Regions from separate parts of the Homo sapiens genome. Here region 2 is linked to region 1. Evidence: promoter capture Hi-C in human tissues and cell types (Jung and others, 2019). All regions are on one chromosome and are shown on one strand. Each heading gives the region's core, a stretch centred on a gene start or on the middle of the fragment in contact. The rest is flanking DNA. Distances are from core to core; before and after follow the strand shown. Region 1 holds the start of DLL4 (delta like canonical Notch ligand 4). Region 2 has its middle 43 kb from the start of INO80.

Region 1 (4,557 bases), core at 1,581-4,080:
TAAGGGAAGAACACAGAGCTGGGTGAGGCTGGGATACCAAGGACTCTTAAGCCCCATTCTCACCTGCTGGCCCTGGGGATCCCCTAGCTCTCCTGGGCCCTCTTCCTACTCCTGGCCTCCCAGAGGAGCCCCGAGTGTCTTAAAGTGAAATAATGGCACAGGGAAGGAGAAGCCAAACTGGATGGAATGTCATGATGGGGTTCTTGTGGGCTTTGGCATGATGGGAGGAGCACTGGGAAGAGACAGGAGGTCTGAGGTCAAGCCCACCCTCAGCATCCCTGAGGCCCAGCTAGTAGGAGGCCCAGACCCACTCTTCAAGGGAGGCAAGCTGTGACCAAGAAGCTCCACTGTGTTTCCTCAGGGGACCCTCCCCTTCCACACAGGTGGGAGCTTGACTGCTTACGCTGTTGGCAATATTCCCCAGTCCAACCGGGCAGGCAGGACAAGTTGCCATCTGGCTGGCACACATAGTGGCCGAAGTGGTCATTGCGCTTCTTGCACAGGCGGGAGCAGTTGTCTCCATAGTAGTTGTCACTGCAGATGACCCGGTAAGAGTAGCGCAGCCTTGTGAGGGTGCTGGTTTGCTCATCCAATAACCAGTTCTGACCCACAGCTAGGGAGCCCTGGATGGCGATCTTGCTGATGAGTGCATCTGGTGGCAAGGCCTCTGAGGGGGCAGAGGGTCGGGTCAGGGAAGGGTCGCCAGTCCCCAAGGGTGCCAGTGACGGCTGGCCAATGTCCTTCTTGGCTGTGATGATGGTGATCAGCCAACCAATCAGCCCAGTTATCCAGATGACCCCCGCCTGCCAGCAAGAACAGGCCAGAGGGACCCAAAGCCCCGCTACGTAGCTGCCCTACGTGTGTGCATGTGCAGGGGGCCTGATAGTATTCAAAAAGGGGACAATAGAAGGATGTTAAGATATCCCAGGGTCTTGGAGGCAGATAGGGAGGGGAAAGAGGAAAAGAGGTCAAAATGGAAAAAAGAGAAAAAGAAAGAAAAGCTCCCCAGGCTAGAGAGGACCCTGGGAGCAGGGGGTCCTTTGGTGCCCATTCAGGGGTTCTGCCTCCAGAGGTGGGTAATGGTTTTCTTTTTTCCTTTTCAAAGTGAGAATTGTTGTGCTGCTGAAATATCCTTTTCCTCTGTGTCAGAACAACATCCCAAAGCCATTATTCCCTTTCCAAAGGAGCGGAATTCGCGAAAGGTGTAAAATACAGGAAGGGGCCCGTCAGCGGCGCTGGCAGCTTCAGCCTTTCTCACCGCCGTACTCCCCGCGTTCCCACGCCAAAAATAACCCGCAGGAAACGCAATTGTGCTCTGAGTCCAGGCAGCGAGCGGAATCCGAGCGTCCAGCGCGGGGCGCAGCTCCAGGCCAAGCTAAGCGTCCTGCCTCCCACCCCCAAGCCCGCACTTCCCCCGCCTAGAACAGATTAACTCTTTCGGCGCTGCGCCGTGTCGCCCCCCTGTGGTGGCGGAGCGAGCTACTCACCTGGCCGCAGGTCGTCTCCTGGCGCGTGCCAAGCTTCGATGATGAGCGAGAAGGTACCCTGGGAAAGGGGGTGGGGGGACGGAGAGATGGCGAGATGAGCAAGCGGGGAGAGGTGGGGGTGCCTTGCGGCAGCCTGTTTAATTAATCTAATTGCAGGATTCAGTTACTGCGCCCGGGTCAACATAACGGGGCTGTGCACAGTGTAGCGCTTGAGCAGGGAAGGCGAGAGGAGAACCCCCGGTAGAGGGAGGGTTGAGAGACGGGAGAGTGTAAGGGAGAGCCACTGGAGGAGGGGGTGGTAGGGTACCGCCCCAGAGTGGTAGGTAATGAAAATCGTGTCCCAAGAGCTGGGGACGGGAGGACATAAACTGGGAAGACGGAGACTGGTGAGAGCCTTTTCTGGGATCAGTCTCAGGAGAGAGTCGGGAAGAGCCAGGAAAGAATGCATCCTGGGCTTTTTGGGGGTGGGGGTGTGTGTACAAGGAAATCTGGGGAGGGGGCTTTGGTCCCAGGGCGCCTCCTCTCTCGGCTTCTGCGACCTCCCAGTGCGCCCAGGCTGTGCTCACCGGCCAGGTGAAATTGAAGGGCAGTTGGAGAGGGTTGCGCCCCCCGCCGCTACTGTCGTCCCGGACAGCGAAGGAGTTGGTGCCCAATACCGGCGTGGAGACGGTCCCGAAGGTGCAGGGTCCGGGCGAGACGACCGCCTGGAAGTGCTTAAGGCAGACGCGGAAGAAAGTCCGGCAGCCGGGCTCGCAAGGCCGCCCACTGGCCAGTACGCCGCGCTCGTTGATGAACTCCTGCAGCTGCAGCTGGAAGACGCCGGAGCCGGCCGCGCGCTATTGCACAGGGACCGAGGGAAGGAGGGAGGGGACCGGTCAGCTCAGCTGGTGCCCGGGGCTGAGGCCCAGAGCGCGGCAGAGGGGACGGAGAGGGCGCGGGACGTGTTACCTGCTGCCAAAGTGCCACCAGCAGCAGTAGCGCCCAGCCAGAGGCGCTCCGGGACGCTGCCGCCATCCCCTCGGGCGTCGCTCTCTCCACCCGCGGGCCCTCAATCTGGCTCTGTTCGCGACGCCGCTTTCCCGCGCGTCCGCCAGCCGGCGGGGTCCCTGAAAAGAGGCGCTCCTCTCGGGACGCTGCTCCCCTTTGGCCTTCTCGCTGGCTCCGCTGCAGCTGCCGCTGTAGGTAATCCAGGTGACTACGGCTGGGCGGCGACCGCGCCGAGGACGCGTCTTCTGTCTAATCCTGGGGCTGCAAGCGGGCTAGTGCCGGTGTACGCTGCACCAAGGCGGCTGGGGCTGCGGCTCTTGGCCTCGTGTTCCCGGCCTGCGCGCAGCGCCGCTACTGAAACCTGCGCGCTGGGGGCCTTCCTTATATATATTGGCTCCTCTCCTCGCCGCCTGTCACTCAGACTCATGGTCATTCTCCCCTCCCCTCCCGGCCTCTAGCTGCTACAGTCCCAGCGCCGCCCGGAGGGGGCCTCCGCCCCCGCCGCTCCCCCCTCCCCGTCAGCCAGTCGGGCGCAGGTCCCCGCCCCTCCGTGCCGCTCCCAACCTCTAGGTCCCCCAGCTCTGCGCGTGCCGAGGTGACCAGTCCTCCGTGATGGCGGGGTTAAGGGCTGAGACCCTGGCCGCCGGAGGATAGAGGGGTTGCCCGGTAATGGGGCAGGAGGTGAGTGGGTGGTTCGGGGATGGTCTTGGGGGCGGAGACACTAGGCAGTCCCTGTAGGCTGTGCATCCGCAGCAGGCGCTAGTTACCTAGTGTTCCAAAGCAGGTAAAAAGAACTTAAGCCCGGAATGCAAAAACCAGCGCTAGGGAAATCCGATCTCCTTTTCCTTCCTGGAGCTTCTGGAGCCCTTGTCTCAACGGCCCCCAACCTATGAGTGCCCACCCACCACGCGTCCCCAGCGCAGCAGGGAAGCCAGCAGAAGCGTTAACCTCTCTGTGGCCACTCTGAGCAAGGCTAGGGGCTAAGGGTCTAAGGCTCGGGGCCCTCTCTGTGCACCTGTTGGGCGTCTCCCTCTCTAGCTAAGGGGGGGCGTGCCCAGCGCGTGCCTTCTCCCTTCTGCCCCCTGCCAGGGCTTGGCGCGTGCCAGAGACCCAGACGCGCGGTCCCTGAGGTGGGGGAGGGCGGGGCGTGGTCCCGGAGGTAGGAGGGGGGCGCGTCCTCAGCTGTATGGTAATGAGGTTCTGGCCCCGCCTCCAGCGCGTCCCCTCACCTGAGTCCAGCTTCAGTTCCTGCGCCCACTGCCTCCCCCCACCCCAGCAGCCCCAAGCCCCCGGCCGCGCCCTGTCGCTCAGCTGGGGCAAGGAGGAACTCTCCTGACGCCAGAGTTGGCTCAGGCCACTGGAGAATCAAGGTGAGGGACTGAGGCCGGGTCGGCCCGGGTCCTCGCCTCATAAGGCGGGATGTGGGGTGGAACTGGAGGCTTGCGGAGCTGTTTGAGTTTCAGGCGGCTTCCCAAGTCTCGCCCGAGAGGGTCCCCTGGGTGGCCCCACTCCTCCAAGCGGCAGCAGCGCAGCTGCTTTCTCGGAACCCGGCGTGATCCCCGGAGACCGCAGACCGGGGAGGGCCGGCTTCTCCCAGTCTCAGGGGTGCCGGGGAGCTCTCTCTTTGCGACGCCGAGGGCAGCGGGGGCCCTGTGGCTTCAGCTGTCAGCCCGCCCGCGAGGTGATGGCTGTAGTCGGGCGGTAAGATCAGCGCGGGGGGGGAGCCGGGACGCGGCGCGAACCCGGGGGAGGCGGTAAGGGTGGGGGAGCGGCGAGAAGCCCAACAGCTGCCAATGCCGAGCATGGTCTGATTTTTTTTTTTGAGTTGGGTGGTGGTGGTGGAGGACTGGGGGACGGGTGTGGTGGGGGGGGGAAGGATGAGAAACAAGAGGTTGGGAGCGTGGGTTGGGGGAGGGGCGAGGTGAGGAGACGGGCTCCGGGGTCCCCCACGCACGGCCACCCCTCCCAGCCACCATCTGGCGCGAGCGGGTTGGCGTGGGGAACCGAGGTGGGGCGGGGCGGCAGATGGGCCCAGGCTGCGCTCGGGAGTTAATGTAGGTTATGGGCAGGCGGAGTCCCAGGC
Region 2 (4,265 bases), core at 623-3,122, 230 kb before region 1:
GTTGAAAATCTCCCTTCGGTTAGAAAAAATTAGGCCTAGTGATGATGAAATGCAAATACCAGTAATATTGTATGACTCGTTGCTAATGTTTAAAAACAACAGGGAAATCAAAGTATCATCCATCAGTTGTGTTTCTCATTGTATGACATAGATTAAATCTTTCATTTGCTGTTATTTTTGTAAATATCAACGATGTGTCATTGTGATATTCCTACGTCCCCCGCCCCCCTGATTTTGTTGTAGGTGCTGAACAAATAATAGGAATTCAGGAAGAATGAGGAAAGAATACATGAATTTCGGAAAATGTTTCTGGAAATCACCACAGTGCGATTCTAATCTCAAAATTAAATCAAATAAAGAAATAAATATTTAAAAAGAAAAAATGTGTACGCCTCTAAAGGATGAAGGAATTCTGACTAATCAACAGCAGTGATGAATTTAAATAGTTGACCTTGTCAGATTGGTATGAGTGGTTTTCTGGGGGATTTTTGGATTAAGAATTCCAGGAATGAGAGAAGAAGAGAAGTGTTAGATATTCAAAATTGGGCTATCGGTAAAGCATTTTGATCTAGCATCTTGTGAAATCTCAATTACGAAACTAATTTGTAGTGATTTCCAGGTGAGAGTGGTAACTGGAAACTTTCAAGGAAGCCTTAGAGGAACAAGAGAGGAATGCCAGGAAATTTTAAAAACTTTTTTATTGTGAAATATACTTAGAAGTTAACTAAATGAAAATGTACTGTTTACGGAAAAATCCAAAGTGAACATCCAGTTCAAGAAATAAAACATTACGCGGCCAGGCAGGGTGGCTCACGCTTGAATCCCAGCACTTTGGGAGGCTGAGATGGGTGGATCCCGAGGTCAGGAGTTCGAGACCAGCCTGGCGAACATGGGGAAACCCGTCTCCACTAAAAATACAAAAATTAGCCAGCCGTGGTGGCACATGCCTGTAATCCCACGTACTCGGGGGGCTGAGGCAGGAGAATCACTAGAACCGTGGAGGCAGAGGTTGCAGTGAGCTGATTTCGCACCACTGCACTCCAGTCTGAGTGACACAGTGAGACTCCATCTCAAAGAAAAAAAAAAGGAAAGGGGGTGCATTTTACCACCACTTACCACCACTATTGATGTTCCCTTTGTTTAGTTATTGCAAACAGTGTTGCTACGAGGTTTCTTATATATGTATCCTGGTGTAAACATGCATGAATTTCTCCAGGAGTGGATTTGTTACATATGTATATATTTAACTTTGCTGCCTTCTGCCAAACTGTTTACTGATTTACATACCCAACAGCAGTGTATGAGAGTTCCTAATATGCCACATTCTCACTAACATTAGGCGTACTGTTTTTTATTTTATTTTATTTTATCTTATTTTTTGAGATGGAGTCTTGCTCTGTTGCCCAGGCTGGAGTGCAGTGGTGCAATCTCGGCTCACTGCAACCTCCGCCTCCCAGGTTCAAGCGATTCTTCTGCCTCAGCCTCCTGAGTAGCTGGGATTACAGGCATGCGCTACCACGCCCAGCTAATTTTTGTATTTTTAGTAGAGACAGGGTTTCACCATATTGGCCAGGCTAGTCTTGAACTCCTGACCTCAGGTGATCCACCCATCTTGGCCTCTGAAAGTACTATGATTACAGGCGCGAGGCAACACACCCAGCCAGAAGAGAGAAATAACTTAATTTGTATGGGTCAAAATCATTTTTGAGGATACAGTCTAAGTAGAAATAAATTAATAATAAGGAAAATAAACAGAATAGCAAATACAATTACTTTGTAAACAAAATTAAATATTATAAAATAATTTTTTTTTGAGATGGAGCCTCAGCCTTTCAAAGTGCTGAGATTACAGGCGTGAGCCACTGCGCCCAGCCTAAAATTAAAATTTTAAATTTTAATAAAAAAAATTAGCCTGATGTGGTGGCATCCACCTGAAGTCCCACCTCCTAGGGAGGCTAAGGTGGGAGGACTGCTTGAGCTGGGGGGATGGAGGCTGCAATGAGCTATAATTGCACCACTGCACTCCAGCTTGGGCAACAGGGCAAGACTCGGTCTCAAAAAAAAAACAAAAATTATTTTCTGGCCTGACACAATGGCTCATGCCTGTAATCCTAGCACTTTGGGAGACTGAGGTGAGAGGATCGCTTGACCCCAGGAATTTGAGACTGCTGTGAGCCATGATTGTGCCACTGCCCTCCAGCCTGGGCAACAGACCAAGATCTTGTCTCAGAAAGAAAAATTATTTTATTTTTCTTTTCTTTTCTTTTTTTTTTTTTTTGAGACAGAGTGTCACTCTGTTGCACAGGCTAGAGTGCAGTGGCGCGATCTCAGCTCACTGTAACCTCCACCTCCAGGGTTCAAACAATTCTCCTGCCTCAGCCTCCCGAGTAGCTGGGACTACAGGTGCATACCACCACGCCTGGCTAATTTTTGTATTTTTAGTAGAGACGGGGTTTCACCATATTGGTCAGGCTGGCCTTGAACGCCTGACCTCACGCGATCCACCCGCCTCAGCCTCCCAAAGTTCTGGGATTACAGGCGGGAGCCACCACACTCGGCCAGAAAAATTATTGTCTTACTCCACCATTCTAAGGATATTTCCTTTGTTATGTTTTTTGGTTTTGCCATTTATGTTTAAATCTCTAATTTACCTGGGATTGATTTTTTAATAAACTGTGAGGTAGGGATAAATTTAACATATTTCTGTATATGGACACCTAATTGTGTGGCATCATTTATTGAAAAACTGCAGTGCTCCCACCATAAATTATCCAGTGTCAATGCATGATGGGTCTTTGCTGGGTTCTCTGCTCTGTACTATTGGTTATTTATTTATTTTATGCTGATAACACACTGTCTTAATTATTATAGCTATTTTATTTTATTTTTATTTATTTATTTATTTTTGAGACAGAGTCTCACCCTGTCACCCAGGCTGGAGGGCAGTTGTGCGATCTCGGCTCATTGCAACCTCTGCCTCTCAGGTTCAAGCAATTCTCCTGCCTCAGCCTCCTGAATGGCTGGGATTACAGGCCTTGTGCCACCATGCCTGGCTAATTTGTATATTTTTAGTAAAGATAGGGTTTCACCATGTTGGCCAGGCTAGTCTCAAACTCCTGACCTCAGGTAATCTGCTGACCTTGGCCTCCCACAGTGCTGAGATTACAGGCATGAGCCACCGCGCCCGGCCTACTGTAGCTTTATTTTATTTTATTTTTTATTTTTTGAGATGGAGTCACATTCTGTCGCCCAGGCTGGAGTACAGTGGCACAATCTCTGCTCACCACAACCTCCGCCTTCCGGGTTCAAGCAATTCTCCTGCCTCAGCCTCCCGAGTAGCTGGGATTACAGGCACATGCCATTATGCCCAGCTAATTTTTGTATTTTTAGGAGAGATGCCGTTCAACCATGTTAGTCAGGCTGGTCTTGAACTCCTGACATCAAGTGATCCGTCTGCCTCAGCCTCCCAAAGTGCTGGGATTACAAGCGTGAGCCACTGCTCCTGGCTTTTTTTTTTTTTTTTTTTGTCTTTTTAGAGATGGAGTTTTAGCCTGGGGTTGCCCAGGCTGGTCTTGAACTCCTCAGCTCAAGAACCCACCTTGGCTTCCCAAAGTGCTAGGATAACAGGCGTGAGCCACTACACCTGGCCAGTAATTTTTTATTTTGAAATAATTTTAGATTTACAGAAGAGCTGCAAAGACAGCACAAGAAATTCCCACATGCTCTTCAACCAGGTTCTTTTTTGTTTTGCTTTGTTCTTATTTTTATTTTTTCTTTTCTTTTTTTTTTTTGAGATGGAGTCTCACTCTGTCACCCAGGCTGGAGTGCAATGGCGCGATCTCCGCTCACTGCAAGCTCCGCCTCCCGGGTTCAAGCGATTCTCCTGCCCCAGCCTCCTGAGTAGCTGGGACTACAGGTGTGCGCCATCATGCCCAGCTAATTTTTTTATTTTTAGTAGAAATGGGGTTTCACCATGTTGGTCAGGCTGGTTTCGAACTCCTGACATTGTGGTCCGCCTGCCTCGGCTTTCCAAAGTGCTGGAATTATAGGCGTGAGCCACCGCGCCTGGTCTTTCTTTCCTTTTTTGAGACAGAGTCTTGCCCTTTCGCCCAGGCTGGAGTGCGGTGGTGCGATCTCAGCTCACTGCAACCTCCACCTCCTGGGTTCAAGTGATTCTCATGCCTCAGCCTCCCACATAGCTGGGATTACAGGCACATACCACCTTGCCCATCTAATTTTTGTTTTTTTTTAGTAGAGATGGGGTT

What was found. The method cuts DNA at HindIII sites, captures the fragments that hold promoters and counts their contacts. A contact is called where the count stands out against the background at its distance.
Region 2: a fragment that was not itself captured here is called in contact with the fragment with the promoter of DLL4 in region 1 in 1 of the 25 tissues and cell types used here (spleen).

Annotation. Positions count from the first base shown.
Region 1 is chr15:40,927,613-40,932,169 of GRCh38, reverse strand. DLL4 (delta like canonical Notch ligand 4) reads right to left here and starts at 2,830. Exons shown (of 11, transcript NM_019074.4): 1 at 2,436-2,830; 2 at 2,054-2,323; 3 at 1,488-1,545; 4 at 404-667. The coding sequence starts at 2,501. RefSeq lists silencers at 2,936-3,025, 3,619-3,688. The HindIII fragment of the contact is 17,329 bases long and covers 1-4,557 here.
Region 2 is chr15:41,157,384-41,161,648 of GRCh38, reverse strand. No RefSeq gene overlaps it. Among named protein-coding and RNA genes, the nearest start is that of INO80, 43 kb to the right of the region's middle. The HindIII fragment of the contact is 8,306 bases long and covers 1-4,265 here.